Regions from separate parts of the Homo sapiens genome. Here all the other regions are linked to region 1. Evidence: promoter capture Hi-C in human tissues and cell types (Jung and others, 2019). All regions are on one chromosome and are shown on one strand. The core of a region is centred on a gene start or on the middle of the fragment in contact, and the rest is flanking DNA. Distances in the headings are between cores, read along the strand shown.

The links. The method cuts DNA at HindIII sites, captures the fragments that hold promoters and counts their contacts. A contact is called where the count stands out against the background at its distance.
Region 2: a fragment that was not itself captured here is called in contact with the fragment with the promoter of FAT4 in region 1 in 3 of the 25 tissues and cell types used here (H1 embryonic stem cells, heart left ventricle and mesenchymal stem cells).
Region 3: a fragment that was not itself captured here is called in contact with the fragment with the promoter of FAT4 in region 1 in 1 of the 25 tissues and cell types used here (heart right ventricle).
Region 4: a contact is called between a fragment that was not itself captured here and the fragment with the promoter of FAT4 in region 1, in 1 of the 25 tissues and cell types used here (H1 embryonic stem cells).

What each region holds. Positions count from the first base shown.
Region 1 is chr4:125,310,069-125,317,001 of GRCh38, reverse strand. It overlaps FAT4 (FAT atypical cadherin 4), which reads right to left and starts at 2,047. Exons shown (of 18, transcript NM_001291303.3): 1 at 1,025-2,047; 2 at 1-602. The coding sequence starts at 590. The HindIII fragment of the contact is 10,793 bases long and covers 1-3,983 here.
Region 2 is chr4:125,481,693-125,488,955 of GRCh38, reverse strand. It overlaps FAT4 (FAT atypical cadherin 4), which reads right to left. Exons shown (of 18, transcript NM_001291303.3): 16 at 7,218-7,263; 17 at 1,350-1,611. Among named protein-coding and RNA genes, the nearest start is that of MIR2054, 22 kb to the left of the region's middle. The HindIII fragment of the contact is 4,587 bases long and covers 1-4,553 here.
Region 3 is chr4:125,441,822-125,448,470 of GRCh38, reverse strand. It overlaps FAT4 (FAT atypical cadherin 4), which reads right to left. Exons shown (of 18, transcript NM_001291303.3): 9 at 1,928-2,178; 10 at 1-10. Among named protein-coding and RNA genes, the nearest start is that of MIR2054, 62 kb to the left of the region's middle. The HindIII fragment of the contact is 4,358 bases long and covers 2,884-6,649 here.
Region 4 is chr4:125,458,136-125,464,519 of GRCh38, reverse strand. FAT4 (FAT atypical cadherin 4) reads right to left here. Exons shown (of 18, transcript NM_001291303.3): 11 at 853-957. Among named protein-coding and RNA genes, the nearest start is that of MIR2054, 46 kb to the left of the region's middle. The HindIII fragment of the contact is 6,113 bases long and covers 235-6,347 here.

The DNA of each region.
Region 1 (6,933 bases), core at 798-3,297:
CCCTCGCCGCTCGGGTTCAGGGTGATGTCCAGACGGAAGCGCCCCGCCTCATTGCCGCGGATGATGCGGTAGGAGCGGTGGTCCACACCGTTTGAGCCGATGTCCGAGTCGGTGGCGGTGTCTAAGATGACTTGGCGTCCGCTGCTACTGTCTTCCTTGAAAGTGACCACGATAGAGGGGTCCGGGAAAACGGGGGCGTTGTCATTGAGGTCCCGCACCAGCACTCGCACTTCGGTGGGGTAGGTGGGCGCGCTGGAAAGGACCACCAGGTTGATCACGTCGCTGGGCAGGCTCTCGCGGTCGATGGTGGAGGTGGTGTACAGGGCTCCGGTGCTACTGTTTATGGCAAACAGGGCGTGGCTTTCGCTGAGCCTGTAGGTGAAGCCGGGGCGCGTCTGGATGGTGCCTACCAGAGTGCCTGGAGGTTGCTCTTCCAGCACTTGGAACACCTGGCGCGGCTCGGCCCCGTGGACCCAGGCCTGCCCCGGAAGCAATGACAGTAGCCAAAACACTCGAAGGAGCTGAGATACTGATAGAGTGTGCAACGGGAGCCACGGGCGGCCAGTAGCCCTGTCTGGTGCTAAGTCCATGGTCCTGGCTCCCTAAAACGATGTGATAAAGAGAAGGAAGGGGTGAAGCAAACGCAATGATATTTACAGGGATTAAGGAGCGCCAGCAAAGATTCAGCTGACGGCTTGGTCTGAGACCTCTGCTATTTCAAAGAACCTCCAGTCCGGCAAAAGCAAGTAGCATCAGCAAAAGACTCTAGGTAGCCAGTTGAACGCGGAGTGCAAGAGAGATGCTGTGGCGAAAAGCGGCAGGGCATTCCGCGGGACACTCCTGTGAGCTGAGTTCCCAGAAAAGTTTCTCAAGCCTCTTATATATGCCCCCTTTTACTTTGTTTTTGAATCCAGATAGTCTGAGCGTTTTCACCCGGGTGGATGAGAGTTGGGAGAAGTTGCCTGTATCTAAGGTATATGAGGAATCATTGCAAAGAACGGTCTTCAGAAACTTTAGAACTTACCCGCAGCGAAGAACGTGAAGAGGGAGGAACAAACGTCCAAGCACAACTGCGCACCGGGGAAGGGGTGGTGGGGAACCGGGAGAATCGAATTTCTTTCCCAAAAGCTGGAGGCGATGGAATTCCTGGAGTCCCCACTCCTCAAAAACCAGGCTGCAACGCCCCTCCAACAGGGCGCCGGCAGTGGCCGCTGAGGCCCAGGCGGCGGCGTCTGCGCGCAGGCAGTTCGGGAACTGCGTTCCAAGCGCTAGCGTTCGCGCTCTGGCTCCCGTACCCGGGAGCGCTCAACTCTGCCCCTTCCCCTCCTGCAGCCGCCGCCGCCGCCGCCCCTGTTGCGGCTTCAAGCCCGTGGTCCGGCACAAACAACAGCCAGGGCTCCTCGGCATTTTTCACCTCTGCCGGGGCGCCTGCCGACCCATTATTTGTACATCCAAATCGAACGCAGTTTCCCCTTTCTTCTCGGCCTCGCAGGGGTCGGGCAGAAACAGCGTGCGGTCCCCGAGTCGCCCTCCCCTCACCATGCCAGGGGGGGTCGTTCTCCGGCGGCCCCAGTCAGAAGCCCACTCTAGCGCGCCTCGCCCCTGCCCTCGCTATCTCTGCTTTTATTGTCCCGTGTCAGTTTCACTTTGTAATCCACAAGGCTTTTTGTTTGGGGCGGGGGGTGGTTGATGCCTCTCTCTCCTTCACAGTTGGCAGCGGAGGCGGCGAAGTCGGCGCTGGGCTGTAGTGACGCCCTCCGCAGCTCCGGACGGCGCCTGTCAGCGCTCTCCCTCTCGCCGGCCGGGGCCGAAGGTTGGACTGCGGTGGAGCTAGGGCTCCGCGAGCCCTTCTCCACCTCCCGCCTGGTCCCTCACACTCTCCCCGCCCCTTCCCCGCCGCACAGGCATGCACACACACACACATACACACGCACACACACACACACAGCGCGTCGCCGAAACACAAACAGAGGGGGAGGGAAGACCGCGAGCTGGAGCAGCACTCAGAAACTTTGCTCGACACTCATTGATCCCCGCACTTTAGTTCGCCTGGACTCCCCCTAGCTCCCAGTCCTGTCACCTTCTGCCCCTCCCTCGCCCCAGCCCCATTGGGCCGGAGCTGAAGCAGCCCCGACCGGCACTCCTACCGCGAGCGCCCTCCGCCTTGCCCGGCCTCCGACTGGCTTCTCGGGATGCTAATCACTTCAGCCTCCCGGAGGGCTGTAGGCGGTCTGGTGTGGGAGCACAGCGAGGCGGAGGCGCTAAAAAGGGGGGTGATTTTTTTTCTTTTCTTTTTTTTTTTTTTTTTTCCTTTTCGGCCAAATCTTGGCCGGCGTCAGAGCAATAACAGCAAAAGGCTGCCGCAGAATAGATGGGGGTGGGGTCAGGTTTGCAGATAAATAACTTTAGTGGCAGGGTCTGGGGGAAGACCGTTAGGTTGTTATGCTAGTAATAACTCAGGGGTAAGGGGGTCGAGAGAAATAAAAGAAAGGCGGGGGGTGAGGGTCTGTTAAAGCGGGGAGGAAGGATTAAGCAAAGCCTGTCTGGGAATGCACAGTGCAGATTTGCTTTAACCATTTCCTGCCCCTTCTCTCTTTATGCAAGGGATAGAGCTGCCATACAGTGTGATCCCACAGAATCCAAATCAAATCCTCCCCTTTGCTCCTCTTTCTACACAGTGGGCTCCCTGCTGTCTAGGGCGAGCTAAACTCTAAATCTTCACTCACTTGCCCCTCTCCCCCACCTTCCAGGTGACTAGGGGGCAGGAGGCCTCCGTAGCAAGGGCACTTTGGACTTCCTACTATAGGAAAGGCCAGGGGAACTCAGTGTTTGTTTTGTTTTCTTTCCCAACTGGATTCCAGGTGCCAGTAGCCCAAACCTTAGGGTTTCAACAACAATAATAATGGCAGCCCTTTGAAAAGAGGGAGATCTTTTCCTGTTGCAAAGTTAGTTTGGAATTTTGATCCCTGATGGAGTATTTCCACCTCCACATTTTTTAGTCAAAGGAAACCTAATAAAGTTTTATTTTGCTTTTCAGTCTGGGAGAAATAGATACGAGAAAGTAGAAATAAATAAAATAATATTTAAGCTTAAGTTTTTAAAAATACCCACATGCCACTTAATGCACTCAGATCAACTCACCCACTATTCACTGCAGTTAATTTTTGTGGTGGCATGCATCGTTTCTTTAAAAGAAGAAAAACGTTACTAGGAATCAGATCGATATTTTTCCCCTTTAAGGGAACCAACCTAGAAAATAAGAATTCAAGCCAAACAATGCAAATACAGGGCATATGTCATACATTTCTGCCACAAGGATCCCTCACAAACGTAAAACTTTCTGCGCCCAGAGAGGGTTCAGTCATGAGTAAATACTGCCCTCTGCTGTTCTACGTCAGTCTTACATCTTTAGTCTCCTGGTTTCTTGCTTAAAATTAAATGCAGAGACTAAAAGGATCGGATTACAAGGCTAATTCCTGCTTCTTGCCTAGGGATAGCAGCAAAGAAAACGATCTCTAAGACTTTCCTAGTGCCTTTCTTATTTAGAGTAAAAAAAAAAAAATCAAGAATAGTAGGACAGACAGCAAATTCAAGTCTTGATGATGCAGGCAGCCTGTAACTCAAAACTGATTTATGGAAACATGATTTCTAAAGCTATCACCAATTCCTCTGTTTAGGTTAAAAAGCTAACTTCTACATATTCCTCTACTGTAATGTAATGAGTTAACTGGAAACAGACAAAAAAGTTAAATTTAACCATTTATGTATTTTAAAACTTGAAAACATTAGACTCTAGACTTTTTAGAGACATTTAAGCCTGTTTTTCAAAAATCGTATTTTTCTTAAGTTACAATCCTAACACCATTATTTTTGGTATAATTTAGCCAAAAAATATTTGTAGATTAACTAAAGTGGCAAACAAATTTTTACAAATTTTTACAAATCATGTCTGTGTGATTTTAAGAGAATATTACTGTTTTGTTTTATTTTGTTTCCTAATGCACTATTATTCAAGTATTTATAGAGAAATAAACAGAAAGAAATCATTCAGATACTTGTTGTAGGAGATCATGGACTTTTGTTGGTTTGCTTGTTTTTTTTTGCCTGTGGGATAATCTTCAGATTTAGTGTCAATAGTATTACATTTGCATTATATATGAGTGAATTTAATTTGGGAAACAGGTGAAGATCATTCATTCTGTGAAATGGAAAGTATTCAATCAGTGCAATATGTATACATTTTAGTTTTACAAAACAAGATATGGCAAAATAAACTAATACAGAAAATATATAGAGAGATAGAGTACATAAAAATTTTTTGGACAATTTCAAAAGAGGATTATCGAAAATTATTTAGCCAATAGTGTGGTTATTTTAACAAGTAGAAACTTTTCGCATGATGACTACTTTAAAGTAACATATTCATTTATAGATAAAACCTATACATGAATTTACAATCTATGTATAGATAGGTACACAATTTAAGGTAAGATATAGAGCATGGTTTTAATAAAAGACAAAGGTATTTTGTTGTTACTTTTCTCTTTTGCATTTCAACCTGTAATATCATGCATGTTAAAAAATGGATGCCCTCCCAAAAAGTAAATCATGCATGATAAATAATATGGATCCCTCTCCAAAAGTAAATGAAAGAAAGTAAAGACATATAGAGATCATTGTATGCATGAAATATGCAAAAAAGCCATGGAATACATTACTAGGTAGATATTATAATGGAACACATTAATAAACAGTTAGTGTAAGAATCATTTCTCATTGTACATTTTCTTTAATTAATTGCCTTTCAAAAAAAAAAAGTTAAGTTTATCTGTGCTTTTCTACCAAAGGCTTGTGTGAGAAGTGTTGTTTAGTCAAAGCTTTTAATAAAGTTCTGAAGAGGAAGATATTCCCCGATGTTAATAGACTGTGGGGGACATATTTTTATGTCCAAATATGAAAGAAACCAGAGAATACCTCATTTGAACCTTAGAACATACGTTAAAACAAATAGCTCTGTAACAATTTGTTATGATCTATACACATTTGCCATCATTATTTAATTAAATGTATGAAATTATGTTTTTGTCATGTTTTAGACTCCAGGTGGCAAAGGCTAGGTTAATTATATTCCTCAATTCGTAAGGCATTAGCAACATTATTCCAGGAAAGGGTATTCTCTCAACTTCCTGCTTTCCTCCCCTCTTCTCCTTTCTTCTCCTCTTCCCTTCCCTTCCTTCTCCATCCCTTGTACTCCCTTCTCTTCCTCTCCCTTTTCCTCCCTTTCTTCCCCTCATTTCCTCTCCTTTCCTCTCTCCCTCTCCTTTTTTTTCTCTTTCCTTCCAATTCCTTCTTCTTTACACCCTTCTCTCCCCTTCCCTCCTCTAGGCTCTTCTGTCCTCCCTTCCACTCCTCTCCCCTCACTTTCCCCCTTAATTTACACCTTATACTATTATTTTACGCTGGACTCTCTTTTGCTCACTTTACTCTACCTTCCTGTACTCTACTGTACTTCCTTATTGTTCTTCACTCTCCTTACCTCATCCCCAGAGGCAAACATTCTGAGTGAAATGTGTATCTTTTTGTTTCTATGTGTTCTTACAAAATGTGTATTATGTAGTTACCTTGTATTTTTGAAATAAATTATATTGCATTATATTGTGTATATAGCTCATCCTATTTCTTATCTTTTCACCAAGCACTATGTTTTTAAGATTTATACATATCGCTATGTGTATATCTGAACTGTTGTTTCTGACTTTTGCAGTTTACTTTAATGTGTACAACCATTCATTTCAAAATATCCACTTACACAGTTATAGACATCCAGTTTTCCTCCAAACCTTTGTCATCACAGTAAGTCTGCACTGAACATCCTTGCAACTGTCCCCATATGGAAAGGAATAGAAATATTTTTCAGATATATAGTGTAAATGGAAAAAGACTTTACACAGTATCTGAAACAAATAGCTGACTGGACTGCTTGCTAAACAAGAGGGAGCTGTGTTTGTAGGACTGTCTTTCTGAGCAAAACAGAGAACTCATCTTATTTAGATTTGGGGAAGCATGGAGTTAATAGATGGCAAACTTTCAGAAGTAGGAGGGGTTAGAGATAGGTTAACTTATGTAGAGGGCAGTTTTTGCAGATTGGCTGGATTTCAGAAGTTTGGTTACTGATGTAAATTCAACGTTGATTTGGAATGGTTCTAAAACTGGTTTGGTAAGTACAAGTGGATAGGATTTTTGTCGCCTTCATCTGTTATTGTTATTTTTGTCTTCTTAATCAGTTTTCATTATTTCATTATTTCTATCTTTTATTTCTTTGATCTAGCTCTGTTATTTTCCAATTTCCTGTGATAAATATTTAATTCAGTATTTTATTTTCTTATTTCCTGATAAGTATCTTGAAAGCTATAAATATTCCTCAAAATACTACATTAACCTAGTCCCACAAAGTATTACACATTCACTTTTAAATATTTATGTTTGGGGCTGGGAGCGGTGGCTCACGCCTGTAATCCCAGCACTTTGGGAAGCCGAGGAGGGCAGATCACAAGGTCAGGAGATCGAGACCATCCTGGCTAACACGGTGAAACCCCGTCTCTACTGAAAATTCCAAAAGTTAGCCAGGTATGGTGGCAGGCCCCTGTAGTCACAGCTAGTTGGGACGCTGAGGCAGGAGAAGGGCGTGAACCCATGAGGCGGAGCTCGCAGTGAGCCTAGATCGCACCACTGCACTCCAGGCTGGGCCACAGTGCCAGACTCCGCCTCAAAAAACAAACAAAAAACAAAAACAAAAACAAACAAAAAATTTATGTTTTGGTTTTCTCTATAGCACAAGATTATTTATTAATATATGATTACAGTTCGGAATAAGTCTAGTCTAAGAGCCCTCTCCTTCAGCAAAACCTGCTGCCTTTCCCCACCTTCCTTGAT
Region 2 (7,263 bases), core at 1,011-3,510, 170 kb before region 1:
TCCTGATTTTCTTCCTATTACTTAGTCTTCTTTTCCGACTTATTCTCCTCTACATAACCATTAACTCTTACGGTTAATCAAGATGACGTCCCAGGCTTTCTTTTCACTCTACGCCCTCATGTTAGGTGATCACATCCATGTCCAGTACTTCAGTTACCTGCTTGACACTGACCACTCTTAAATATATATTTCCAGCTAAAGTCTATTTCTGATTTCCAGCCCATCCATCCAAAGGATTTTCTCAAAGATGCTTCAAATCCAAAATGTCCCAAACCAAATCTAATATTTCTCAGACATATGCTGCTTTTGGAGGGTTCTGCAGTTTCCTCTCTTGCTGACCTACCCTTCTTTGAGTTGAGAAGTAGAAACCTCCTTGAATTTTACCATAATCACTAACAGTTTGGTTGATTTTAGTTCCCAGAATATTTCTTGCCTATCCATTTCTTTCTAACTCCTCAGCCACCACACTAGTAGGAGCTCAGAAGACATCTTGCCCAGATCCCAACTCATTTCTGTAGATCCACTCGTGTCCTCCTCCAATTCATTCTCCATGCTGTAGCCTGAATGATCTGTAATATTACTGCATATCTAACTTGATCCTACTGTGATTAAAGTTTTCAATTACTTCCCATTGCTCTGTAAATAAGACCAAAACTGCAACATGGTCAGGAAGTTGCTTCATTCTCCAACTTCATCATTTGCCTATGATGTTAGCCTCCAATGTGTTGTCTTCTATAACTTTGGCTTAAACGATTTCTTTAAAAAAATTCCTATCAACATAAATTAACCTTTCGTACACTTTCATCCTCCTCATCATTCAGATTTATGTATACATGTCAATTCCACAGCAAAATTCCCCTTCCTTTCTCTTTTTTCACTATATTTTAGAATTCTACATTCTTCATTTGTATTATTTATCACACATTAGAATAATGCAGTTACTTGTGTAAGAATTTGATTAATGTTTGTCTCCATTAATGGTCTATGAAGAGAGTGGCTGTGAATGAATAAATAAATGAACAAATGTATATGAAATGCTTGGTGGACAAGCAAAGCATCAAAACACTATGGACTGAATTACAACCTTGGTAAGAAAGATGCAAGCTCTCGAGAAAGTGGTGGCTAATAGTTTATTACAAACTTTCTGAAGATAGTTATGACATTCTTAGGATATTTATAATTGATATTATCAGACATCAAACTACTTTTTTAAACATAAATTTTATTGAATGAAATTGTTCTGTATATGAGATTCATGTTAAATGTGTAGTCTTGCCACAAGAAAAAGCAATTACTTTTTGAAGAACAATTTTACTTCCCTTGTGACTCTACTTAATAAAGGCATTTACCTGTTTGGGCATCTCGATGTGCTTGATTGGGTGGAATTCCTCCAAGTGATATAGTAAGCACATCAAGGCCACCGAAGTCCTGAGTAGGGTGGATAATATCTCTGTTATATATTCTGTCAACAGACAATACTGTTGCTGTTCCATTTTTCCCAATTAGAAAAGTGTGCCAGTGGCCGTCTGCAACATATACTTCAGGAATATTTCTCTCCACTTTCCCAGCAATTCCTGCATCGGATGTAAAATATACTTTGCCATTCTTAATCTGTAAAACATATTAAAAATAGTATGCAATTAAAATATGGTATGCTTAAATAAAAATCATTAACAAAACTAAACTTAAATTTTTGACCAGTCCACAGCAGATAGAATAGCTGAAGAATCTGGTTGTATTAGAATATACTTACACACTTTGTCTCTAATTTTAGGCAACATGTACTTTTACATTTAAGTTTCAATGGTTTTCAACGTATTCTTATATGTATACCTAATTTCTCAAAACTTGATGAATTATTTTCCAGAACACAATTGAAATAATAAAGGGGCGAATGTCCATTTAAGATAATTAAATTATACCTTTTTAAATTATTTGTATTCCAATGACAACCTGCCATTGGAGTGTGTTATGCTGGTTCGTTTAGTAAAAGGCCCATAGTACTAAAAAATTGTGAAAACCACTTGCAAAAAGAAAAAGAATGCTCAGCTAAAAGGGAAGCATAGTTTAAAAATAAAGATGAAAATAATTGTTTTACCTCTCATCTTTTACACACAAATTTTAGGAAAAAATGATGCCTATTGTTTATATCATTTATTGAGATCAAAAACTATGATGAACAAAGAGTGAATTCTTAATGAGGTGTCTGGGCAAGCCTTCACTTTGGCTGTCTTTTACAATTTATCTAAAGGATATTTGGTTTATTTTATTTTGTCCAGGAGAACATTGGGTAACAGGGTGCTCCCACTCCAGTTTCCAGCTACCGAGTTTCCAGTATCCTGAGTAGACCATTTTAGAAAATGAGATAATTTATGAGGCAAGATGAACATTTGGTTCAGGGAGCATAATCCTGTTACCACTGCCAGACAGAGCTGGTGTGTTGGCAGGGGGATGCAGTGGCACTGTTCCTCAAATAACGGGAATGAAAAGATGGATCAGTTTATTTTGTCACTCAGATCAAATGCTATTTCTACATGTAACAAACACATCTGGTAAAACTAAAAATCAGTTCATTTGTACTTTACCGAAAAGATGTCTAACACATTTACATATGTTATTCATATAGCAATATTTTATTAAAGCCAATTTTTCCAGATAATAATATATTTCAGTACCAAACTAAAAAAAAAAAACAGAAAATTCTAGCTAAATGACAATAACATTTCATCAAATGGGCAACATCTCATGACACACAGTAAAAACAGCAACTTTCTTTGGTTATAGCTGGAGTCCTTTTTGAAAAAAAAAAAAAGGAAAAGCCTTCTCCCAGCTCTTTCCTCCTAATTGATTTCATCATGTCATCCTTTTATTCAATAAATTTTTGATGAAAGAGCACTTGGAATATACCACAAATTGGGGTGGATAAGAATATAAGTTCCCATTATAACATTCTTAATGTTTTCCTTCTCCCTGGCAGTACTGTACTTAACACTTATATAATTCTTCACTTTTAAAACATCATGCTAATTTTTGCTTGGTTTTATTTATTAATAAACAGTCAATGATGAACCATAGGAGCTGAAAAATTATTATTGCCTAGTGACCTAGTAGCCATTGTAATGTCATAGCACAACGAATTACTCATTGCGGGGATACAGGTGTAAGCAAGCCTACTGAGCTGCCAGTTGTATAAAAGTATATCACATGCAATTTGATAATAAATGACTATATTAGTGGTTTATGCATTTACTACACCGTTTTTTTAATCATTATTTTAGAGGGTACTGCTTCTAATGATATAAAAAATAGCTGTAAACCAGCCTCATCCAGGTCCTTTAGGTGGGATTCCAGAAGAAGGCATTGTTATCATAGGAGATGACAGTTCCATCTGTGTTATTGTCCCTGAAGACCTTCCACTGGGACAAGATGTGGAGGTGGAAGACAGGGATTTGATGATACTGACCCTGTGTAGGCTGAGGCTAATGTGTTTTTTTGTTTCTTAGTTACTAATGCAAAAGTTTAAAAGTAAAAATAAAATGAAATAAAAAACTTTTAAAATAGAAAAAAAGCTTATGGAATAAGGGTATAAGGAAAGAAAATATTTTTGTACAGCTGTACAATGTATTTGTGTTTTAATTGTTATTACAAAAGAGAAAAAAGTTAAAAATTTTAAGTTTATAAACTAAAAGAGTTACAGTAAGCTAAAGTTAATTTATTATTGAAGAAAAATATTTTTGATAAATTTAATGTAACCTAAGCATACAGTGTTTATAAAGTCTGCAGAAGTGTATAATAATGTCTTAGGCCTTCACATTGACCCACCACTTGCTTAATGACTCTCTGACTCAGAGCAACTTTCAGTCCTACAAGCTTCAGTCACAGTAAGTGCAATTTAGGCAACATGTGAAACCTCATCCCTACAAAAAAATACAAAAGTTAGCCCGGCATGGTTACGCACACCTGTAGTCCCATCTACTTGGGAGGCTGAGGTGGGAGGATACATTGAGCCCAGGAGGCAGAGGCTGCAGTGAGCCGAGATCATGCCACTGCACTCCAGCCTGGGCAACAGAGCAAGACCCTGTTGCCCAGGCTGTCCCCCATCCCCCCAAAAATCTTCAATGCAGCCTTTTTACTGTACCTTTTTTATTTTTGGATATGATTATATACACAAATACTTTCCACTGTGTCACAATTGCCTACAGTATTTAGTACAGTAAACATGCCATACAGGTTTATAGCACAGGAGCAATAGACTATTCCATATAGCCTAGGTGTATAGTAGGTTGTACCATCTAGGTTTGAGCAAGTTCACTCTATGATGTTTGCACAAGAATGAAATCACCTAACAATGCATTTATCGAAATGCATTCCTGTCATTATGCAACTCATGACTGCATTTATTTGTTCATTTATTTAATTTGAATCTATAGAGCTTTGAATTCCTTATTCCAATTATTCTGTATCACCTATGTTGCCCACTTAAAAAAACCAGACAAACACAAAAGAACTGATTTAGAGTAGAAATAAAGTCCATCACATTACTATTATTACAGAACATCAAATATGGAGCTATAGGGCATGCCATGAATGAAGAGAGATTTGTGAAATGAGTTAAATATTGGCCTACAAAGTTTTACACAATTATGCTTTCCTTTTGCCTTTCTCTCTGAAACTTTCTTTTCTTAATTTTTTCTTTTTCTGAATAGACCCAATTGATTCTACATATTCTTCTCTCTCCTCTCATCACTATTGCTGCCCACACCTGACACTGACACCCTCTCTCTCTTCTAGCCACATGGAATCCCATTTACCCAACACCCTTCCTCATTTTTCACAAAATGTCCTCATCTTCTGTCTGCGTGTGTGTGTGTGTGTGTGTGTGTGTGTGTGTGTGTATGTGTGTCTGTAGAGAGAGAGAGAAAGAATGATAGAAAAGAGAATGAGAGAGAGAGAATGCAAACCATAAGAAAGAGTTAAAGAAAGGATCAGAAAAGGAGCCAAAAAAAAAAAAAAAAAAAACGGAACCCTGGGGTCTTGGTGACCAATAAGCTAATTGATAAGTAAAAGTCCATCCTAACTAGCTTCCTAGTCTGTATAAGCACTTGATACTCCTATCATCCAAATAATTTGCCTGCTTACAACAGCCACTTTCTTTTGGTTTACTTAGTTATTCTTAATTCACTGTTGTTATTTTTTCTTACCTATTCTCTTTACCTGCCAAGCCCCTTTGAAAAGCTTCTTTTCAAAATTTTCATATAAAACTATGCATTTTGGTCTGTATTATTCATTTTTTTATTAATTTGCACTTACTTTCCTTTCAGGAAAAAAATTAAGTTATTGCTACCAAGCTAACAAAATCTGGAGTTGTATGCGCTGTCCTGTTGGAAGTAGAAGAATTTATGGTGACAAAAATGGATCCTGACATTCAGCTTTTTCCTTAGTGAAGAAAAAAATGTGTCTCTGATTTTTTTCAACCACATTGTATTTTGACTGAATTCCTTGGCTTTAAGTGTACGTTAGTACAGAAATATTTCATATGTCATTTAAATGGCACGAAGACTTGGAAGCAACTTAACAGATAACACACAGACCTCAATGTCAAAGCCTCTCAAACCATATAAAATATGTTTCTTATAGAAGATGAGGATCTATTTCTTTTTTTGCTTCTTTACTTTGTTTACTTCTAATACCATTTTCAATGAAAATTATAAGTACCAGATAATAATGTAATACAATGGCTTATGTGTTCTCTTTTACAGTTGTTTTATTAACTCTGGAACTGGGTCCTTTGCTTCAATAGAGGTAAAGTTAAAACCTGAAGATGTTCTCTTGTAAGGGAAAAGGGTAGAGTGTCTGCCATTTGGCACTAATGATATTTGGGGCCAGATAACTCTTTGTTGTGAAGTGCTACTGTTTAGCAGCATTCTTGACCTCTACCGCTAGACGCCAGAAGTACTCTCCCAACTCCTAACCGTGACAATTGAAAATGTCTCCAGATATTGCCAAATGTCCCATGGGGGTAAAATCTATCCTAGTTGGAAATGACTGGACTAGAGGAATTATCATTTGAGAAGGTAAGAAATATTGGTTTTTGTACTACTTATTAAATATATTTATATGCAACATAATCATGGTTGGCTTGCACAGAGAAAAATTTTGAGGATGAAAGAGGCTGAAGTTTAGAAGTGAACATCTATTTTTATTTTTAGTATTATATGTGAATTAAACCAAATAATTTTTCTGAACAAATTGCTCTTTTTCTCTGTGAACTATCCCTGGAGTAGTTATTAAATATTGACTAATAGATGAAAATAATTCAGGAAATCTGGATTTGTTATCTTAAGAATTTACTAAAATTTATATAAAAAATTATCAGTAGAATGATACAAAGTAATATTAATGGAAGGCAGTAAATATAACTAAACTAAAGAAACTGTTGGTCTAGGAGATGACTTATTTGTGGGAAAGAAAGCAGAACATAGGTTTAAAACTTCAGAAAGCTAAGGGCCGATGCAAAAATGGATATCTAATGAAATTATTCATCTGTATATAAGTCTAGTATCTTATTTACAGATAAGAAAAAACAAATTATGTAAAAGCCTAATGATAAATCCATTGTTCTCATGAAGCATAATTTTTAAGATTATTTAAAAATTATTTGGAAAGGTTAAGTAAAATTATAATGAATTCCAAATATACTTTACTCCACAGAGTTTATATAGAGAATTGAATATATGCTCCAGAAATCATATAATTTCAAAATGTTTTTGCTTATTTCAAAATGTTTTTCCTTATTCTAATCCTGTCAATTGACATATACATATCAATATTTGAAATAATTGTTGGAGAAAAATATTTTTGTATTTCAAACAAACATTATATTTTTGGTTTGCTTTGTCTAAAAGTAAGAAAAGAAGTGATATAAATTCTTACCAGAAAAATAGATTGCAACTAATTCTTTGTGTGCTGGCCTACCTGGCAGGGTTCTCTACTCTAAAGCAACACAAAAGTGTGTAGAAACCAAACCATTCAGATCTTTGTTACTCTGGCCAATGCCTGGGGAATAGTTAAGATAGATGACATTGGAATAGTGCCCAGCATTAGTCGGAACTCTAATGGGTTGTAAAGAAAAGGACAGAAATTATGGGGGAAGTGATTTAAACCACTACACGGCAGGCGGTCTAATCAAATGAAGTCACCATTAGCTTTTATCTCACCTTCACAGTAGTGTAATTGCTGCTTTCTTGGATATGGATTAAAACG
Region 3 (6,649 bases), core at 3,813-6,312, 130 kb before region 1:
ACAAAGGAACCTATAAAAGAGAAAGTGTGCAGTTATACTCACGTGGAATTTAAATAAAATATTTGGTAGCAGATAAGTGCATATAAGACACTCTATTGCTGCTTGATGTGACCTTATTTTCTCATGATTACTAGGGAGAACAGTATCTCCTATATTTTCTCCGAGGTTCACAAGTCAAATCTGCTCTATGATTGTCTTCAGAGACTAACCTGCCATTTTCTAACTAAAATTTATACAGTCTGTTGGATTTAATACTTTTCAGTATGCCTTTGAGAGAAGCCTAGGGAAAAGAACTTGCTAATCGTTCAAAAATCATAGTTTCTAGGAGAAAAATCTGCACATAAAACAACATTCCAAGAAACATAATATGCGAGCTCTGCAAAGTGCTATGCCTCTACCCAATGCAATGATACCGTTGCTCTAGTGTGTCTTAAAATATCTTCCAATCACTTTATATGTAATCTTGTCAACAAAAATCATGTTCATTACCATTTATTCCTTGTCCCCACTGTTTTATGACAAAATTCCTTTATACGTGAACTATTATCAGATGGAAAAAAAAGTGCATATGTGTATGTTTATATGTGTGTGTATATACATACACAGATATATACATAAGCCAATTAAAATAATTGTAAAGTAGTAAGAAATAAGAATTGAGGGATAATGGACTCAACTTGGACTCCAAAAGTTAGTGCTTAGACTGAGTGCCAATGAAACAGATTGTCGTAAAAATATGCAGAAAAGCTGCCATAAGGACATATTTTCAATCTACTCATTCAGAAACCATTCCCAAACCTGCACTCTCACCCCTACAGAAGAAACGGTAACAAAAGTAAAATATCTTTAATTTTAAAAAGGCCAGTGGTTATAAGTCCAATGAGGAAAAGATGCTTAAGCATACCTCATTTTACATAGGAAATTTTATCTTGCACCACCACACATTGGATGTAATTAGAACCATGCCTGCCAACATCATTTCATCTGAAGACCTTTAGCAGGTATTTATCATTTTGATACTGACATTTCCTTTGATAGAAAGTTGGCACATAAATTTATGAATCCTATATTTTAGATTGGTATCATTCTCAGATTAATAGAAGATCAAAGATCACTGAAAGGAGGATCTGTTAACTCTATCTGTTAAGTTTTTCTTCTAATAATTAAAAATATTTCCGAGCAAGGAAGATTAAATCAATAATGAGCTATATTTCTATATTTTCCTCTTTGAAAACTCATTTTAAAAATTAAAATGGCAGATTTGTGCAGTTCTTAGAGTATGCCTTTCTTAGCAAATGTCAAACTAAATTTAAAGAGATACAGAAGGATAAATGCATATTGTCAATATGAAAATGATTCATAAATGGATCCATAAACTTGCTAACAGAACAGTTTTCATTTGTAAAACCTGGAATAAAATAAATATTAACAAGAATTATCCATTTATTAAACTTTTTGAAAACATATCTATGAAAAATTGAAGTCAAATATTCATTTTCCACTGACAAACATAGTTGAATGCCTATTATCTCCCATATCATGTTTCAGGTAGTGGCATATGGCATGCAAAATAGAGACAATGCCCCTCCTCTTAGCAAACTTACACAAAGTTATACCTCAGGCCATAAACATCATTAACGATGATGTAATATATATGTTAATTATTTATAATATTCAAGTAATATTAAGAAATAATAATACATAACAATTATAAAACATTATACACAATTAGTCTAGCAAGAAAGGGTTAATTTTCAAGTTTCAAGCATTTTTTCATTTCCATCAGACAAAACAACCTGAATTTTAGAGGATTTGCAAAATTAGGCTATATCAGAAATATGTATGTAAAATATCATAAATATTTTTATAGAAATGTCTGATACATAGTTTGTTTATATCCATGTGGCCTCAGAATTTGGTTGATTACCTGGAAGAGTAGGAGATGGGATGTGAGTGACATATGGGTGATGCTGAAATCTTGGTGGATTGTCATTGACATCAGTCACAGTGACAAGCACACTGGTGGAACTGGAAAGAGGCTCTGGGGATCCCGCATCACTGCAGACCACTACCAAAGTATAATTATCTTTTGTTTCCCTATCTAACAATGCGCTGGTGATGATTTGTCCTGTCGATGGGTTGATCGTGAACTGAGAGTTTCCACCGATGATCCTATAACTAAAGCAGAAAGCAGAAATAGGGATATGTCATATAGTTTTAATATCGTAACTTCTATTTACTATAATTAAAAAACTGAGGTAGAAATGCAAGAAAACGTTACAAGAAAGATCATACAACAATGTTGGAAAGAATACAACTAGTCTAGCTAATAAATATTTCAAATTTTCTGTGAACATCACATTGACAGTCTTTATCGTGAGATGTCCAGTGATGTCAAGGAAGTCTTCACAAGGTTTTTAGGACTCTTAAGTTGTGCAAGGCCACCAAACAAACCCCTAAGGCTTTAAATAAATGAGCCTAAAAGCATAAATCAGGGGACTTGCTCTAATATTGTGGTTAGTAGCCAGGATTACAAATGAATATCTTTTAAATGAAACTAAAAATTATTTTTCTGCTGTATACCATAATAAACCAGAGAAGATCAGTTGAAAATTGTATTCTTTTAAGACAAAACCTGTATTTGACATGTATCTGCTTCTCAGAACAACTCAAGGACTGATTATTTATACAAAGACCTTTCTAGTGATTAATTCTGTCTTTGTCATTCCTCATATGGTTTTGTTGCTTTCTTGTCAGGAGAGGTATGACATCTTCATGGATGTTTTGATGCTAACCAGATAGGTTAACGGGCAAGAGTTTCCACTGAGAAAAGCTTCTCTCTTCTTTCTGAAGAGTACAGTTGTCTGCATATATTCCTGATTTTGTGTATAAGGTGAGGTCCCAAAGATCAGCCAGGAAAGAAGTAGCTAAGCTTGAAGGTTCAGAAATTGGCTATGGTCCGTAATTTTTAAAGTTGAAAGATAGCATGGAAATAGATATCTTTAAAAGTTTTCTTCTTTTATACCAACAAATAGATACCCTTGTTGGAGTTGGCTGCATGTTTCTACAGTTTGCTTTGTGTCTATATAAACATAGCAACAGCATATATCTAATATAAACTGCAGGGGAAAAAACTATATTGCAGCCAGTAGTATGTTCATTCTCCTATTATGCTCACAGCTTAAAACAAATATTTCAGCATTTTTTATCCTACTTTAGTGAAATAATCAACTGTTGAGGACCTTATATTTAAAACTATTAGAAGTCTTATAAAATGATAGCAAAACAGGGAAAGAATAGAGAAGTGGTTTGGTTGAGAAATGGCTTCAGTATTGATAAAATACTTTGTGTCACTCAGATTTTTAATATGCTTGGCAAATCACACGACAGAATCAGGCATGTGTGAAAATAGCATTAACTATAGTTATTGGGCCAGAAGTGACTATTAGGTATAATTATTGCCCTTTACAGTAGATAATATATATTCTCTTTATCAAAATATAAATATCAAGTTTTATACATGAATTCTTAAAACTTGAAAATTCAGGACTCACAAAATAATCAAAATACCTTAACGTTTTACAAAGTGTAGAAAACTGGATTTGAGAATTGTGTAATTTTATTTTTGGAACCTTGTTGCTGTCAGTGGATGTAGAAATAATCAAATAATTTAATAGGAAAATAAAGTAAGCCATGCTGCCATAAACTTTTTTAGTTTTATAATGGCAAGGATCAAGGTTCAATCAAATATTTATTCCTATAAATATTCACAAATAAAAATAAAATGAGATTGATAAAAAACATAAATTTTCATCTGGATGTTTTGTATATGCCAAGACCATGGTGTATTATTAAGCGTAATGTGTTGATAGGCAAATGGTGTGGCCTTTAGTCCAGTTTCACTAAATGATCCATTCAAAAAGACTTGCTATCATTTAAATGTTCCTTGAAATTAGTCATTGTAACAGTGTTGTAACAATGTTGAGAAGTAGGGCCTTTAAGAGGTGAATTAGACCATCAGGGTTCCATCATTATGAGTGGATTAATGCCATTATCACGGAAGTGGGAGTTAGTTATTGAGGGAGTGAGCTTCTGATAAAAGAATGAGTTCAGCCTGATTCCCTCTCTCTGTCTCACATGATTGCTCACCATGTGATGCCTTCTGCCCTTCTGCCATGAAATAACACACAGGAAGCACTCACCAAAAGCAGGCCCCATGCCCTTAGACTTCCCAGCCTCCAGAACTGTGAGCCAAATACACTTCTATTCTTTATAAATTACCCAGTCTGTAGCTATAGCAGCACAAAACAGACAAAGAAACCTATGGTATAAATTCTGATTTTTTAATTTTATGCTATTGCACATGCTATTGCCCGTATGACTGTCTATTTTAAAGTAGGTAATATATTTAGTATTTTTTAAAATGAATGAGCAAATAGTCATTAATATCTAATTAATTTTTTCTAGACTTCACTAGATTCTAAAGCATATAAAAGTATATTTTAAATATGAGATGTTCTATAACACCAGTTGGATGAAAATTTATACTTCTAATTTTAAAAATAGAAGAAACACAATAAGCTCTGTACGTAGATCGACAGTTAAGATAATATGTCTAGATTTTTGCCACATCTCTTACTTGAGGCTTGGTTCTATTCTCATCCCTCCTGATGACCTCTCTTGCTTCTCTGGCCTGCATTAATTTTTGTAAAGTTAAAAACTTTATTAGATTGTGTCTTGTGGTATCTTCTTAACAGTTAAACATTTATGCTGTTACTTAAATATTTCCAGGAGCTTATTGATTTCTTAGTGCATGTCAAGCACACTACTGGGCAATTTATATATGCTCTTATTTAAATCCCAAAACTATCCTTATAGTTTAGTTTTAGTTTTGACTGTTTAGGGATAATGAATCTGAATCTAACAGAGACTAAAGTAGTTGCACAAAGAAACATACAATCTATAAATAGCAGATCTAGAGTTTGAATTTCTGTCTTTATGACTTCACCATGCACTTTTCCCATTATTCCACAGTAGAAGGAAGGTAAAACTCAACTGAGGGAATGTAGTGAAGACGGAAAATGTACCAATTGCGAAGGCCAACATGGACTCTTGCTCAAGTTGTGTCAATATAGAATTTGTTCACATTTAGTTCAATGAAAATCAATAAACACGTTAAATTATTTTCTAATTTGAGAATACATTACTATTTCAAATTATTTGCATAAACAGAGACCACTGTGATCTGAACCCTAAATCAACTATTGCTTTTGTAAAGTTAAAATATCCCCATTTGATTTTGTAAAACTTCTTTGCCTCTTCCTGAGATCTACTAGGGTTATAGGCATTATACTGTCTGCTGGGAGAATATGATCATTTAGTTAAGAGACTGGACTTTAGAACATAGTTCACTTGGACATAAATTTAAACCCCATGAATAGCACTTAAATTCACAAAAATTTCTTAACATTTTTAAGCCTTCTTTCTTTATCTGTAAAGTGGAGGTCATATTTTACTTTTTATTTGGTAGTTTTGACTATTAAAAATATTTTGTATAAAGAGCACTTGGCATTGTAATTGATAAATGGTGAGCCTTTAAAAGTCTAAGTTTACCAACATAATAGGACCTATATAATATATATGTATAACGTAATAGTCTATTACATACAATCTATCCATATCTATCTATACATAGGTTGAGTATCCATTATCCAAAATTCTTGGAACCAGGGGTGTTTGGATTTCTCTGGATAGAATATTTGCATATACATAATGAGAGATCTAGGGGATGGGTCTCAAGTCTGAACACAAAATTCATTTATGTTTCATATACCTCATATACATAGCCAGAAGATAATTTTATCTAATATTTTTGATAATTGCTTGAAACAAGGTTTGTGAACATTGAAACATCAGAAAGCAAAGGTATCAGGTGTGGAATTTTCCACCTGTGGCATCATGTTCATGCTCAAAAAGTTTAGGATTTTGGTGCATTTTAGATTTTGGACTTTCAGATTAGGGATGCTCAACCTATATTTAGATAGTTAAATGGATAAAGGGACTAAAAATTCAAAACAGAGACACGGTTAAGTAGGTTAAAAAAAATCCTGGTTTCAAGTTTATGTCCTTTATGACAGAAAGATATAAAAAAAAGGTAATTACAAAACAGTAAAGTGCTATGAAACAGTAAAGAGGTGTCACTGTAGGTATTCAGAAGACAGAACACTCTTGACTGGAATGATTAAAATAAAGCTTCCTCAGAGAAAGGTAAATTTAACATAAGTTGTAAAGGGGCTACCCATCTTTCAATAGTGTTCAAAAAGGCAGAAACAAAAGAAGGTCTAGGCTAGTGGTCAGCAAACCTTTTATATAATGGGCCAGATTGTAAAGATATTCAGTTTTACAGGTCATATATTCTCTGTTGCAATACTCAGCTTACCATCATATGGCAAGAGCAGCCAAAGACAATAGGTACATGAATGGGCATGGCTGTGTTCCAATAACACTTTATTTACAAAAACAGGCACTAGGCCCAATTTGGCCTGCAGGTAGTAGTTTGCCAAGCCCTGGTCAAAGATATAGAATAAATTGAGCAAACCTATAAGGCTTGGGAAAGCACAGATCCTTGTCCCATGAGCAGAAAATGATC
Region 4 (6,384 bases), core at 2,042-4,541, 150 kb before region 1:
AATAGATATACAAAGGGGACAAAAAAAAAAAGAAAAGAGACAGAGTCATTTGGAGATGGATTCTATGCTGTGGTGTAAAGCAGCCTTTAAAAAGAATGGAATAATCACAAACTTATGAAACAAGCCAAGCTAATACAAATGCTTCCTCTGAATCTCATGGTTTTTGGCTGGCACAGTAATGGGTAACAGCTGGATAAGACCTGGAAGGAATCTTTTAGTTCATTCCACTAGGGTGAATAAATATGTATGTATACAAAAAAGTTCTTTTTAACAATTTTTCTTATCCAAAAGACAGATTAGTCTGAAATTTTATTAGTCAGGTAGTATCAGCTACAAAAAGCCTATTATGAAAACGTCAGGTATAGTTACTAAGTCCTTCTAATAAAAGTGGCTGAATTAACATAAAAAACAAAATTAAAAACTAATGTAAAAAACAAAAATAAAAAATAAAGCAAAATTCACAAAAGTGAAACAAACAAAAAACCTTACTTTGACTACTCTTAAAGATTTGAAATAGAGAGTGACGTGAAAGAGTGCTTACAGAATTTTTTTATTTCATAACTTCTCAGCTGAAAAGAAGATATCCATAAATCTTTGGGGGGAAATATCCTATGGAAACAATATTAATTCAATTATCTTGAGTTGACTCTTTTTCTAGTAATGACCAATGCAATGTATTCAATGGGATTTCCATAACTTTTACAAATGTTAAACATTTAAGATTTTATTTTAATAAAACCTTCCATGTAAAACAATAATTTTTTGGTCTTTCATACTCATAATAAAACAAAATTGCTAAACTGTGTGCAAAAATAAACTTATATTTTATATCAACAAATAAGTTTTACTCACCAAATGGACAATGACAATAATAAGAATCCACACCACTTTGGCAGGAACCACCATTAAAGCAGGGGTTGCATTCACAGTAATTGACTGAAGATTCACACATTTTCCCTAAAATATATCAAATTCAGTTTTTTTTAAATCTCATACATAAATATATTAACACCGTTACACCATTACCATACGTAAAAATCTTTCCTAAGGCATATCACGGAGAAAAGAAATATAAAAACGTTTTACTTGACATAAGGAAATTAGAATAATATCTTAGAATTTAAAATCTTGTTTAGTTGTCCTATTGTAAAATGTGCATTATAATACTTAGGAAATAATTTACATAATCATCTTGGAAGAAAATACTGTTTGCAGAGAAATGACATGATAAACATATTTAAATGCTTTCACTGAATTTATTTTCTGTGTCAATGTCCCTTCATCTTTTATATTTTATAGATAGAAAGTTGAAACTTACAGTATTCTTTTCACTGCAGAGATTTTCTTGACTTAGGTATTTCAAAGATAATAACTTATCTTATTTATCAAACTACACTCTTTCTACTACTAAGAAATATCACTTGAATTACACATATCTGTTGTAAAGCAGAATAAGAAATAAGAAAACACATCATATTTTCAAATGCTTATGAAAATTTATTCTTGACTACAGATTATGTATACTTTGTCTTTTGTCTGAAGCGATAATACCTAAACAGCATATTTTTCAGTTTATAAAGACTTTTCTCATACATGATCTTGTTAAATTGAATCAACTAATATTGAGTGAGTGCTTATTATGGGCCAGACATGATAATGGAGGGGGATATGGCAGTGAAGAAAGCAAACAAGTGTCTTCAGACTGTGTTTCCATTTCAGTAGGGAGTATTAATCCATACAAAGGAAATATTTACATTTCAAAAGTGAAGAATAAAAGCCTCTTGGAGGCTAATATATTGTCTGTGAAACTGTAAAACTATGACACAGACCAATTTAGGGCTTCTGCTCCCATATCCAGGTTTCACAAAACTATGGTAGTTGATCACGTGGTGTATAAAACTTGGAGTATAAGTCCCACTTGTTTTTGTTGTTGTTACTTATTTTTACCTAAACTTAAACATGTTCTAATACCACTGTTCTATAACTTTAAAGTATTGCAATCATTTGATACATTCGTTAGGATCTAATTTTCAAATTTCATAATGCAGTGAGATGTTACAGAATTCTTAGTTAATTTCTTTTCATTGAGAGTAGGATTGTAAATACTACATCATTTGTTTCTGGAAGTTACTTTCTACTTCCCAGCCCAATTTCACTAATGCATTTATTAGATAGCTCAGGAAATGATATGCATTCTATATGCACAACGAGACCTACTGCTGAGCATAGATACTTCATTTCATCATACTAACTTTGCTTAAAACACAGTCAAAATTTTGTTTAAATTGGTTCTGTTTTTGTGGCTTGATTACGGAGCCACACTTATTCTGGTCTGAAATTATAAGTGTGAGTCAGATCTCATGATGCTAACTAAGCCCATTTCTGTACATCACAGAATCATAAACACAACATTTTTTCCCTTATAAATAAATTGGGAACCTCCTTATAAGGCAAAACATTGAGCTAACAATTTCAGAATACCTTTGTATTGTTAAGGCAAGGGCATGAAAATAAACAAGTTACAAATTTATGGGCACAGAAATCAGGTTTTAAGTATTGTAGCAGTGTACTACATTGGAGAAATAGGCAGGAAAACTTCAAATAGTGCTTGATTTCTCACCAGAGAGTTGCGGTTTCACAGAACTCTTTCCTGTTTTGTTTTTCAACTGATTATGTGAAGGCCATTTTAGTGATGTAGATTTTTTTTTCTTACAGCACAGTATTTCCCAGTTGCAAATACATAAGGTCTACTGGCCATATTTTTGATTAGTTGTCATCAATAAAGTAATATTCTACTCTTTCCATTTGGTTTTCACTGTAAAAGCACACATAATTTTCACTTGTGCTTTTTGACTAGGTACAGTTTTACTTTCTTTCATTCCTTTCTTTATCCAAAAAATTATTTTAGAGTTGTGTTAAAAGTAACATGTATAAAATACATAGACTTATATATGTATTTATAAGTGTGTTCAATATAGCCTTGTTATCATGAAAACATGTTAGTGGGTTACAAAATTGCCACCTTCACTTCTTAACGACTGGAAATGAGGAACAAATAAGAAGTAACAAATGTAGAGGGTACTGCTATGTATACTTACTCAAATAATTGGACATATGTGCTCTCTGACAAAAATATATGAGTATAAATCCCAAGTCATTGTTCCTATAAAGCTACTATATGTTTTTTGAATTTCATTTACAAATACTACCTTTATAAATCTTGAGTTAAATAGCAACAAATGAAATTTACGTGTTGTTCTTTTTGTGTATAATTATATGAATCAATTCTTATTTAACCCTGTATAAAATATTTTAACATAGACATCTGAGTTTAATTTAAATATAAAATACAGGCTATTGCAGTTACTCCAGAGTGAGGAGTGGAAATATATCCTAACACAAATAAGACTTATTCATTTATTAAAACATACAGTGATTACAAAGTGGCAGAAGATGTTACAAACCAATAAAATACTAATTTTGAGAACGAATTTCCTATAAAACTTAAATTCTCAATAGAATCTGATTCTTCAAGTATACACAAATAGAAATAGAAATTGTTAAGAAAAAACAAATTCAACCTTGCATTCAGTATTTCAGTTTAAAAATAAGGTTGTTCCTTTTTACTTTGTCTTAGTGGATAATTACAAATAATTAATAATGGCTATTCCTCAAGAGCTAAAAGCAGAACTACTGTTTGACCCAACAATCCCATTACTGGGTATATACCCAGAGGAATATAAATCATTTTACCATACAGACACATACAAATGAATGTGCAATGCAGCACTATTCACAATAGCAAAGACATGGAATTAACCTAAATGCTGATAAATGACAGATTGGATAAAGAAAATGTGGTACATACACATCATGGAATACTATGCAGTCATAAAAAAGAACAAGATTATGTCTTTTGTGGGAACATGGATGGAGCTGGAGGCTATTATCCTCAGCAAACTAACATAGGAACAGAAAACCAAATACCACCTGTTCTCACTTATAAGTGGGAGCTAAATGATGAGAACACATGGACACAGAGAAGGAAACAACAGACACTGGGGTCTACTGGAGGGTGGAGGGTGGGAGGAGGGAGGGGAGCAGGAAAGATCACTATTTGGTATTGGGCTTAATTCCTAGTTGATGAAATAATCTGTATAACGAACCCTGTGACATGAGTTTACCTATGTACCAAACCTTCACATGTACCCAGAACCTAAAATATAAGTTAAAAAAATAGATAAAATGGCTTTGTTTGGGGTTAAATAAAGGAATTTGTTGTTGAGTTTGGAAAAAATAGTCTTATCTGTTGGTGGTAGAGTATGTAAATTATTTACTATTTAAAAATTGAGTTCTCCATTTAAAGAGTAAAAATTTTTTACAATTCATGAACTCAGAGGTTGCCATAGCAGATACTTGAATTCAAAGACATAGTAGGAAAACAGATTTAAATTTAAATTATTATTTAAAACACCTGTGTCTTTTGTGTGAGAAAAGGATTCCATAATTTTACTTAGAATCAAAAGAAAGCTTCTAAATGCATATTTCTCAGGTTTGGAAAGTTTATGCTTTTTTACCCAATTAGAAATTAACAAAATTCTGAATTGTTTTGTGCAAGTCTATCTACTTAAATTGTAGTGTTAATAGCATAATGAGTATCAGAGAATGCAGTAGTTTGAATTACTCTAACATGCTCTTGGTACAATAATCTGATGTGTTGAAGCACTGTGAAACAAAATCTTGGATCATTAACTTAATTAATGCTACAAGTCAATTAACAATACTTGCCAAACGCCTTCAGGCTTGGAAGTATGCTGATAGGACTTGCACAAAGACAGGCATTTATTCCTCTTGAACTCAAGAGGCCTCCTTCCATTAAGATATGTTTACTGCCATAGCAGCTGTTTAGAAGAATAAATTGATCTCATTGCTTTGACATCCATCAATTAATTGTGTTGCCATACACTATTTATCATAACTAGAAGGAGATGTGCTTGAAGAAGTGTAAATTCTTAGCACATGGAAAGTGGGAATAGCTTAAGGTGAAAATAAATGCATAATAGGAATCCATGGTATCCGCAGACTTTCCTAAACTTACAGGAGAAATTTTGTGTCTATTTTCATGTTTGGGGGCAGAAGATGTGATGACGTGTTGAACATAAACTGAATCTATTGTAATCACCTATGGTCTTTTCAACAAGAATGTATATTCAAGTTTCACTTGTCCAAGCACATTTTAATGTTGGATTATGTGAAATAGAGCTAAATTTATTCTCAACTGCTAAATTGGACCACTCCATGAAGATACGATAATTTTTGATACCCTATGATACATGTAGCCTTCAATTTAAGATCTTAGATTATATATACATATTAGACTACCATAAATATTATTTTTAAATCTCCTGTATTTCTACACAGAGGAGATGGGAGAATATGTGCAACTCTAAAAATCCATTTTAGGTCTAAATTGATTATGTTATTAATAAAGAAATTCTATAATAAATATATGCTATTCATTCTAGGCATTTATCTTATATATTTTCCAAATTATTTTAGCAAAAAGTAGCTGTCTTTTGCACAGTATGCAAATGTTTCCCATTATTGTTAAGGAGCTATGAAGATAGTCTAAGTATCCTGTTCAATAGCCTTATGGCTTTTTTGCATTGAAACAAAAGCAAAAATACCATGTTTTAATAAGGGCTGCCAGTAACAAAAGCAACAACCAAAAAAAGTTTTTACCTTTGTCTTGTAAAACAAGCACAAACACAACCTCAATGAGACTACAAATGATTACATATGATTACACACATAATGTTCATAAGCTTATAAATATATGCTTATTTTCTACAGAAATAAGCATTTAAGCTACTTCTTAGAAACATACGTTATTAATGCTTTTATAAGTTAATGTATTACCTAATGTAAACTGCCTAATTCTGCTTTCAGGAATCAAATTAAATAAAAATAATTGCACTCTTTATTGTCTCTTACATGAGCCACTCTTCTTTATCTCAAACAAAATTTAATTTCATATATATTTACTAAATTTCTTTTATATTATATGGTTTTCCGGTCACATGATCATCAACAACACCAATACATGACCGTAGTAATTTTAAAAGAATCACTCTTAGTAACTCTTTCCATCTTTATGAAAGCAAATATCTGGCAAGTTTCTCAGTAAAATTACTATGCATATTCTGTATATAAGTTGGTATGTCTGAAAAAATTTTACTGTTTATACTGTCAAATGACATAAAAGTGATGAATGAACAAACCTCATCTTTCCTGAAATATCGGGACTTAATTGAGAACATAGGAAAACTTCTCCATAAGGTAATAAACCCCCGGCATTATTCCAAATACTACACCTGAAATGCA